Regions from separate parts of the Homo sapiens genome. Here regions 1 and 3 are each linked to region 2. The links are contacts of gene promoters, found by promoter capture Hi-C in human tissues and cell types (Jung and others, 2019). All regions are on one chromosome and are shown on one strand. The core of a region is centred on a gene start or on the middle of the fragment in contact, and the rest is flanking DNA. Distances in the headings are between cores, read along the strand shown.

The links. The method cuts DNA at HindIII sites, captures the fragments that hold promoters and counts their contacts. A contact is called where the count stands out against the background at its distance.
Region 1: a fragment that was not itself captured here is called in contact with the fragment with the promoter of LPAR1 in region 2 in 6 of the 25 tissues and cell types used here (IMR-90 fibroblasts, aorta, dorsolateral prefrontal cortex and 3 more).
Region 3: a contact is called between a fragment that was not itself captured here and the fragment with the promoter of LPAR1 in region 2, in 1 of the 25 tissues and cell types used here (hippocampus).

Annotation. Positions count from the first base shown.
Region 1 is chr9:110,819,458-110,822,648 of GRCh38, reverse strand. No RefSeq gene overlaps it. Among named protein-coding and RNA genes, the nearest start is that of MUSK, 150 kb to the right of the region's middle. RefSeq lists an enhancer at 1,178-1,387. The HindIII fragment of the contact is 4,406 bases long and covers 1-3,191 here.
Region 2 is chr9:111,036,996-111,039,943 of GRCh38, reverse strand. It overlaps LPAR1 (lysophosphatidic acid receptor 1), which reads left to right and starts at 1,474. Exons shown (of 6, transcript NM_001351411.2): 1 at 1,474-1,777. LOC124902248 (a long non-coding RNA gene) reads right to left here. Exons shown (of 2, transcript XR_007061732.1): 1 at 2,155-2,948; 2 at 1-489. RefSeq lists a silencer at 1,705-2,044. The HindIII fragment of the contact is 11,259 bases long and covers 1-2,948 here.
Region 3 is chr9:110,842,704-110,845,991 of GRCh38, reverse strand. No RefSeq gene overlaps it. Among named protein-coding and RNA genes, the nearest start is that of MUSK, 180 kb to the right of the region's middle. The HindIII fragment of the contact is 3,872 bases long and covers 1-3,288 here.

The sequences.
Region 1 (3,191 bases), core at 653-3,152, 220 kb after region 2:
CACTCAAGGACCAAAGGCTAGTCAGTCAGCTTGTGTGATTGCCGCCAGGCCTGAGTCTCTCCTTTTAGAGCATTAGGTTCCCCTCTGGCCCAGGGTAGGTCCTGAAATGCCATCCAAGAGCCAAGGTCTAGAATCAGGGACACAAGGAGCCCATGAGGTATTGTACCCCACTGTGGTCCAGCTGGTACCCAAGGTGCAAGACAAAGTCACCTTTACTTTTTCCCCAAGTAGAAGGGGTCTCCCCGTAGCTATCTCAGCTGAGAATGTGCTTGGTCACACCTGAAGCCAGCAGGGCTCTGAGTCTCATCCAAGGCTCATAGCGAGTACTGCCTGGCTGCCACTGCTGATTATTTGGGGACCAAGGGCTCTTTAGTCAGCAGGTGATGAATCCTGCCAAGAATGGGTCCTTCCCTTCAAGGAAACCGATTCCCTTCTGGCCCAAGGTGTGTCCAGAAATGTCAGGAGTTAGGGTCTGAATTGGGGGCCTCAAGGACTCTGCCAAGTGCCCTATCCTACTGTGGCTGAGTTGGTATCCAAGTTGCAAGACAAACTTCTCTTTACTCTTCTCTCTCCCCTCCTTAAGCACAGGGAAGGAGCTTCTCCTAGAGCTGCAAGCTGCACTGCCTGTAGTTGGGGAAGGTGTGACTCAAGCATTTCCATGGCCACCCAGCTGACAACCATATATTCTCATATTGACTTTTCTCTTTTAGCTAAACTACTTAAACTTTAAAAGAAAACTTTTTTTTCTCCTTTTCTATAGCAACCTGTTTTTATAGTTTTGGATGCAATATCTGAATATCCTATCAAGCTTCCCTGAGAATACAAATCAGAATTTTTTCCTTAGATCGTCTCAGTTCTGTGAAAAATTGCTTTTTCCTCAGGGGTCATTATTATTTTTGTAATGTGCTCATTTGATTCCTCTCACTGGTGTCGTGATTTGTCTTGGCTATCTGCTAATGCTTGAGTCTCTCTTCGTGAAGGAATGGATTGGTGAAACTCAGGCACAGCTGTGAGCTTTTTCTATAGATTTTTCCTTCAATAGGCCTTTCTCCTGAATCCTCATTTTGGTGTTTGGCTATTTGCTCATCACTTTTGCTCTCTAAACTAAAGCCTATGAAGTTCTCTGAAGTACCTGGATCACCAAGGGTAACTATAATCCTACCCAAATAAATTATTTACTATTTTAGAGAATAGCTTCTACTTTGGTTAAATGGTGGTGCCACCCATCATTCTGTATAGTCAGGGGCCTGGAACAGAGAGGCTGGCTGAGCAGAGCAGGCATTCTAGTGGCTGAAGGAGATTTCTCTTTCTGTTTCCCTTTCTACTCTCTATGCCTGCCTCTGCCTAGCCAGAAGCCTATCAAGGGTTCAGCCATGAAGAATGGCTTCTACTGCCTCGTTCTCTTGTTTCCTGTGCTCTGTTATCTGTCAGCCTGACCCCAATCTGCTTTCCATATTCCACATATGTTTTCAATCTGTAGTCTACTGAGGCCACAGGTATTGAGACAAACACATGTGTTTCCTCTTCCATCTTGAACTGGAAGCTTATCTAAAATGAAAAACCTCACAATAAACCCCTCCCAAATTAAGATTACCAAGCACTAAATCTTCAAGTTAAGGAACATAAGTAAATCAATTTATATGTAACATCGTCCATTTTATATCTTAGCATGTTACTATTCATGTTTTCCTTTTTAACACAAAAAAGAATTAGTTTTAAAGATTTCTGTTCAAAAGGTACACATCCATAAAACCCCCCTATGTGATTTTGGTGCTAACTATTCCAGGAGCAAATTGCCTGTAGGAATTATAGGTTTAGCCTAACTTTGAGCACTTTCTTCTAAAACTGTTCTACAGCTCTTAGAACCTTGTTCAGTCTCTCTAGGGAAGACATATTTAGATATGAATGAGGATTTTTGGAAACTTATCTGCTGAGAAACATCTCAAGTAAAGTAGACCTTTCTGCCCCCCTCCACTTGCCCCCAGCAAAGAAATTTCCTGGAGATAAACTGTTCTCAAGCCAATGATTCTGCCCAAGAGATTCCAGGCTCACAGCTGCTTAGGCAAATTGCCCATCCTGCACTGCTGGTCCACAGACAGGGGTTGTCCAACAACACAAAGCTCCAGTTTAGTTGCCCCCTTCTTTGAATTTAAAGTTTAGGGAGGGTGAGCAACTCTCATCCTTTCTCTTGAAGTTTTGGTGGGAGGCTTCTCCATTTTTCTGGCTTTGGAGAAGTGAAAAAACGTCTTGACTAGATGTACACAGTGTCATTGTAATGGCTGTCAACACATGCTTGATAGCATGTCCTTTTGTCAGAACACTGGAAAACTTATCTCTGGCAGGAATTTTGTTTGACCATTCATTCATGAAAGGTGTATAATTATAATTCCTAGTACTTAAACCAAAAATATTTTGGGTTGTTTGGGAATCTGTTCAACTAACTAGAACATATTGAAAGAAGAAAAAAATGTAAATCAAGTCAATAAGGCCTTCGTATACACATTGTAATTGCAATACTGCTGTGAGTACTCTTGTACTCTAAATATCCCTCAATATTTCAGCTATTTTCAATTGACCTATTTTATTTTTTTTGTACACCTTAGGTAGGAGGTAGAGACTTTGGGACAGGGCCAAATGCCTTTGGCTGTGGTCTCTGGTCATACATACTAGTTTGTGACCAGTAGCCTCTGCCTCAGTGGTCACAGTCAAGGAGACACACAGACAAGATTTCTGCTGTAAGGACCAGCAAGAATCCAGAGGCACTGCATGTAATCTTGGGTCCTCTTTGTTGCTCTCATAAGGTGAGGTAATCATTTTACCACTGCCCATATCCCATCCTGAAGAAGGACAGAGGATGTGTCACTCCATCTAAAAATCTGAGAGCCACAGAATTTTATAGGAGATGACTGAGTTTCTACAAGGACTGCTAAATAAAGTTGGTGGACCAAATTTACTGTAGTAAGCTCAAAGATAGATTTCCTTTCTACACAGCAGGTGAGAATACTTGAAGAAGCAACAAAGAAGCTACATTTTTCTGTATTTTCTCTGGTTGTAAACAAATCTGTGACTCTGACAGTACATGCATTTACTGTGACTCTGATAGTATGTGTATTTATTGACCTGTTTTTCCAGCTTGGGACACAAGCATGTTCACATGTCTAATTTTTTCAATTACTACTTCAAACACCCAC
Region 2 (2,948 bases), core at 225-2,724:
TTTTTAAAAAAGATTTGAATGATTTTTTTTAAAAAAAAGATTAGAACCATTGTTTTTAAAAGGAAACAGCTTTAGATAGTAAATTATTTACAGCCAGGACTCAGCCCTGAGCATCCTGTGAAAACCACACGAGCTTGGTCAAGGTTCTAAGCAGTCACCGGTGGGAGATGGTCATGGTCCCGTCACAGCATAACTCACTTGAGGCTTGAAAAGTTTCCGTCCAGCTACGGTTTGCAGTGACCTTTCTCTTCTGCAAAGCCCACGGTTACCTGGTGGCCACCACCAACATAGCCCCGCCTCGCTGTCCTGCGTTTCTCTCAATCAGATCAGTCCTGCCGAGTCCCCATGCCTTACTGCTGGTGTGCTGTGTCCTCTGTGCCATTTCAAGGCGAGGGCTCATGAAACTTTTACTCACACGCTGCTATTTTTGATATGCGGTGGCCTTAGCTGTGGAGCGAGAGGCCGATAATTGTGATCACTCCGGAAATCCTGGGAAGCCAGAAGTGGGAGATGGGTGTTGTGAGGTGGCGTGGCTAGGGAGACCCCATCGAGTGGGTGTGTTATAAGACCTGGGCGAATCCCTGTGGCTGCCACTCTCCTGAGAATGTTCCCTAGGCCTTAGTCCCGCGCCGCTCCCACCCACACCTCCAGGTGTGCAGTCCCCGCCCTTAATTACTCTCACTAAAATTGATAGTTTACACTTGCAAAGCTACACTGGGAAAGCGGAAGAGAAATTTATAATCGTGGATATGGAGAACTAGGGGAGCAGACACACTTGCTTTCGTTTACAGATCCAGTGAAGTGAAAAATCAGAACTAGAAACGTATGCACCTTCCTAGCAGCAAAGCCGCTTCTGCGTTCTTCGCAGCCTCCAGTGCAGGGCGGCGCTGGGAGAAACTTTGCGCCTTCTGGAAAGTTTAGAAAGTGAGCCACGAAAGAGAGGCCACATTTCCGGGGTTTTGCGGGCCCCGCGATGTTTTCCAGAGCTTTTCGAGTGGGAAGAGGAGAGCGACAACGTGAAAATGCCCCGTGCCGGGGCGTCCACCGGAGTCCTGCCAGCTGTCCGGCGCTGGGGTAAGCGCAGGAGGGGCGGGGGTGGGACCCGAGCTGGCGGCCACGGGTCTCCCGCTGCGGGTGTGTCGACTCGGGGGCGGGGCGGGGGAGGCTGCTGAGATAATGAATGGGAGGCTAAGGCCACCCCCCAGCCCCGGCCCTGCCACCACCGTGGGCTGTCGAGCCAATGAATGGAGGAGGGGGCGCAGAGGTCAGGGGCGCTGGGGGCGCCACACCAGGTAAGGGGTCCAGCTTGGGAGCGGGGAGGGCGGACTCTGGGGGTTCGGGTGTTGCTGACTTGTGCTACGTGGAACAAGCAGAAAAGAAGGAAGGCGGAGGAAGAGAGGAGGCTGGCGTCGGCGCTGCTCCTCTGGCCCTCCCTCTGCGCCCCCTCCTCCTGCCAGCGCGCCAAAGCCGGGCAGTAGGGGCCGACTGGCGGCTGACGCTCCCTGAGTGGCGACTCCGTCTCCAGCCCCGCTGCGGAGCGCGGGCCGGATCTGGGGCGGCCAGGGCCCGGAGCCGCGGAGCCCTCCCCGCCGCCCGGCCGAGCACGGGACCCCGGCGGGGTGGGCGCAGGGGGCGGCCCCGCTCTGGGCGACTGCCGAGGGGCGGGCGGAGGGCCGGGCTCGGCTGGCGGTGGGGCGGGGGCCGCCGGGACTGGGCGCGCGGCCTGAAGCCAGCCCGGGGGCGGCAGGAGAGGGACGCGCGGCGGCAGCGAGCGCAGGTAAGGGGGCCGGCGCGGCGTGTGGGGACGGCGCCCCCTGGGCGCGAAGCCAGAGGCCGCGGCGACTGCTCGGCCCGCCACACGGCGCGCTGGGCTCACACTGTCCCGCCGCGGACGGGCTTTGTGGTTGGGGGCGCGCGTGCGAGTGCCAGTGAGAGTGTGGGTGCGCGCTGTGGGCCGCGGCGCGGGTGGGTGGCCGTGCGTTCTTGCGAGCCGGCCTGCAGGAGGCGAGGCTCCCCTGGCCTCCCGCACCCAGCGGCGGACCGAGCCCCTGGAGGGAAGTTGCCGCAGCCGCCCGGGCCGCCGGCCCTCCTGTCCCGCGCCAGGTCAGTGCGCCCCGGGGCCCGCCCAGTGACACGTAGGTGGCCTCCGGTTACCTGGGTCGGGGTGGGTGCGCGGGAGGGCTTGCGAGGGGCCCTCGAAATTCTCCCAAAACCTCGTCCCGCTGGACTTGCACCTCCGAGGGGTCCCTGCGCCCCTGGGGCTCCGCACCTCTCGCTTCCCACTGACGACTCGGTTGTCCCCCACCACCGGGCTGAGGACTTTTAACTAAGTTTCTGTCCAGCCGCCTAACAAACGTGCTTAACAAGTAACAGGAGGTTGTAAGGCAAGGGAGGGACCTGGCTTTGAAAGTTGATGGTTTTGAAATCGACGGCTCCTTTGACTTGCGTAGGACTCCTTTGTGGTGAATGGATTTAAAGTTTATTCTTGTTTTTCTTTGCTGCCATTTGGTCTTTGCAATGTTAAGAGTGAAGGCATTCAGGACTTGCTGCTGCCTGCTGTCTGGGGCCTGAGGTTGTGGCTCTCCGCTTCTGCTCTCCTCTCTTCATTTTTGTTGAAATCCGTGGATTTTTTCATAAATGTGGGTGCTGGCTTGTTTCACTATGGACGCGTCGTTTCCTATGGGGTTAGATAGATATTGGTAAACATAAATATTGAAAATGTGATGATCACATATTGATGATCACAGCGAAATCCTCTATTCCTTCAGGCTCTAACAGTTTGTTTTTCACGTATTTGCATAAGTGTGTTTGCTCAGCTAAGCATAATTGGTAAGCCAGAGGTCTGTGATTCAGAGTCTGCAGTTCTGGTTAAGGGGAGACTGTACACTTGGAAAATGCGAAGTTTTTTAAGAAGTTATTCCCTTGCCGGATAGAAGAGTGGGTCCCAA
Region 3 (3,288 bases), core at 313-2,812, 190 kb after region 2:
TTCTTTTTCTTTTTTTTTTTTTTTTGAGGCAGAGTCTTGCTCTGTTGCCTAGCCTGGAGTGCAGCGGCACGATCTCAGCTCACTGCAACCTCCGCCTCCTGGGTTCAAGCGATTCTCATGCCTCAGCCCCCCAAGTAGCTGGGATTACAGATGTATACCACCATACCTAGCTAATTTGTTTGTATTTTTAGTAGAGAGGGGGTTTCACCATGTTGGCGAGGCTGGTCTTGAACTCCTGGCCTCAAGTGATCTGCCTGCCTTGGCTTCCCAAAGTGCTAGGATTACAGGCGTGAGCCACCACCTTTTCAAATTTTTAAAAAAGACATTAAAAATTTTCTTTTTAATCCACCCTAATCGGGCTTTTATTTCTACCTCTCTCTTAAAAGCACTCTTGTCTTTCTAAATATGGTGGTCATTTCTCTTATCTTCTCTTACTCAGCAGCATTTGATGGGTTTGACAAACATCTTCTTCACTAGGCTTCCATAATTAAATGCTTCCATTGTTTTCCTCCTACTTCTATGGCTGCACCTTCAATGTCGGCCTGTCTGGTTCTTTTTCCTCTTCATAATCTCTAAATATTGTAGTGCCCCAGGGCTTGGTCCTGGGCCTTCTTCTAAATACTATCTCACTGATTTCTGTCAATTATAATAGGACTTTAAATATACCAACGTGTCTTTTAAATATATGTGCCTAGCCCTGTGCCCTCCCTTGAATCCCAAACTACCTGACAACTTCATCTTGCTGTTTAATAGACCTTTCAAACCTAACATATCTAAAACAAATCACTTCACATCCATTCTCTTCCGCTGCCCCAAAATAACCATCACCTTTTCCTATCCCAATACCTATCTCAACAAACACACCCTATTAGCCATCCAGTCACTTAAGACCCATATTCAGAGGCACCTTCAGTACCTCCTTTTCTTCATTCACAACACAATCCTGTAGCAAGTGTGGCCTGCTTTATTTCTAGAATGTAACTCAAATTCAAATACCTGCTTTCCATTTCAGTTGCTACCTCTCTGGTCCCAGTTCCTATCATCAGCCTCTAAATTAATTTAACAGCCTCTTAACTGGTATCCCTCATCTACCTTTGAAAAAAAAATAAAATCGATGTTTTAGAACAGTTTTGGATTTACAGAAAACTTAGGAAGATTATAGAGTTCCCACATCCCCTATACCTGGTTTTTGCTATTATTAACACTCTACATTTCTATAGTATGTTTGTTATAGTGAATGAATTGATATCGATCATTATTATTAACTAAAGTTCACAGTTTATTCAGATTTCACTAGTTTTTCCTAATGTCCTTTTTCTGTTTCTGAATTTTATTTAAGATACCGTATTTCATTCAGTTATCATATCTCCTTAGCCTTCTCTTTACTGTGACAGTTTCTCAGGCTTTGCTTTTTTTTTTTTTTTTTTGATGCCCCTGAAAGTTTTGAAGAGTCTTTCCCTTTGTGCTCTTTTGTTCACTGACTGCTATTTCATGATTTTGGGGCATCGTGGAAGTGTGAGAGGTATTAAAAGAAAAGGACAATGGCTTATGTGGCTTTTGTGCCATAATCTAACACTGGAACCTCCTGCCTGTTAGGTTCTCAGTTACTGTTTTTCTTTCATGGGTCACTTTTATGAATTCTTTGCAGATTATCTGGGGATTTTTGATCTGGCACTACTCCCTAGTATTAGTAATGCAGTCTCCATCTGCCACCTCTGATGTCTTGTTACTGTCAGCTTCTGCTTCTCAGGTTAAGACTACAGAGCTCTTATCACTGAGGTCCCCTTGCCCTGGCCAATTTCTCAGGTAGAGACCTTGCAAGATGACTCAAACTAGGCTTCACTGAACTTCACTGCTACTCTGAGAAGGTCTGAAACTCTCATATAACCCATTAGGAAAATCTCATCCCAAATTCTTTATGGATAGGTATATCAATCCATTCTCACATTGCTATAAAGAACTACCTGAAACTGGGTAATTTATAAGAAAAGGGGTTGAGTTGGCTCATTGTTCTGCAGGCTGTACTGGAAGCATGGCTGGGGGAGGCCTCAGGAAACTTACAATCATGGTGGAAGATGAAGGGGAAGCAGGCATGCTCGACACAGCTGGAGGAGGAGGGAGAGAGAGTGAAGGGGGTGGTGCTACACACTTTTAAACAACCAGGTATCATGAGAACTCAATCACGAGACAGCACTAGGGGGATGGTACTAAATCACTAGAAACCACCCCCATGATCCAATCACTTCCCACCAGGACCCACCTTCAACATTTGGAATTACAACTCAACATGAGATTTGGGTGGGGACACAAAGCCAAACCATATCAACAGGCTACTCTCACATAAGCCCTATGTCTTTGTTTTGCTATCACAGGTGGCCCCAGACAAGAGAAAAGTTTTGCTCTATGGACCATCTAGGTTCCAGGAGATCCATGTCAACTCTCCATGTGCCTCCCTGTTTCCCCCAAAACCATGTCCAGTTAAACTTGGGAGAAACAGTGAAAATCATGCTTGAGGAAATTTTAGGGAAACATGCCAACATTTTTAAGTATGGCTTGAGTTTCTAATTTGACTTTAAGATTGTCTGAAATATCTCTTCTATTGTTTACTGCCTTCATTATGTTTTAAATTTGGTAGTTGTGATAGTAGTCTGATATTCTTGGAATATTCTTGGAAAGCCTTGGAATATTTTCCCTTTGGGTCATAAAGGATTCATCTAGGAAACGTTTTTCAATGAGCTACTGTGAGAGGAATTCAGAGAGAGTCTGACCTGCCTTGATTAGTTCAAGGCTTAGCCTGCCTTTACCAGAGGGAGTTAGATTCATCTTTCACCCCCAACCCTCACCCCCAATACACACACAGGGACTTCATGGACTTGCATATCAGCTTTGGAGGCATTTGGGACTGGCCAGTTGCCCCAACAGCTTGAGATATGACTGGATATAATGTAACAGGGATAGAGGGGTGTGGTTAGAACGTGTCACAAAAATGTATAAGGAAGGTCACGTTCAGAGGCAGAGAAATGCTGCTATTTGTGTGAGTGCTGGGCCTCCCAAATGGAATGATCACAGACAAAGTCTTTCAATGACTGACTTTTCTGAGCAGAAACATCTCATTACCTTTGACCAACAGGAAAAGTGATTAGGACTCATATCTATGCTAATTCTTAATACTTTTGGGAAGATCCACCTTGTTTACACTGTCAGAGCTCTCCTCTGAGGGGCTAATGAATGAAACTTGGAGGCTAGAAAGCAGCCAGATAAAATTCATGTGGTGCCAGTTTATAGTCA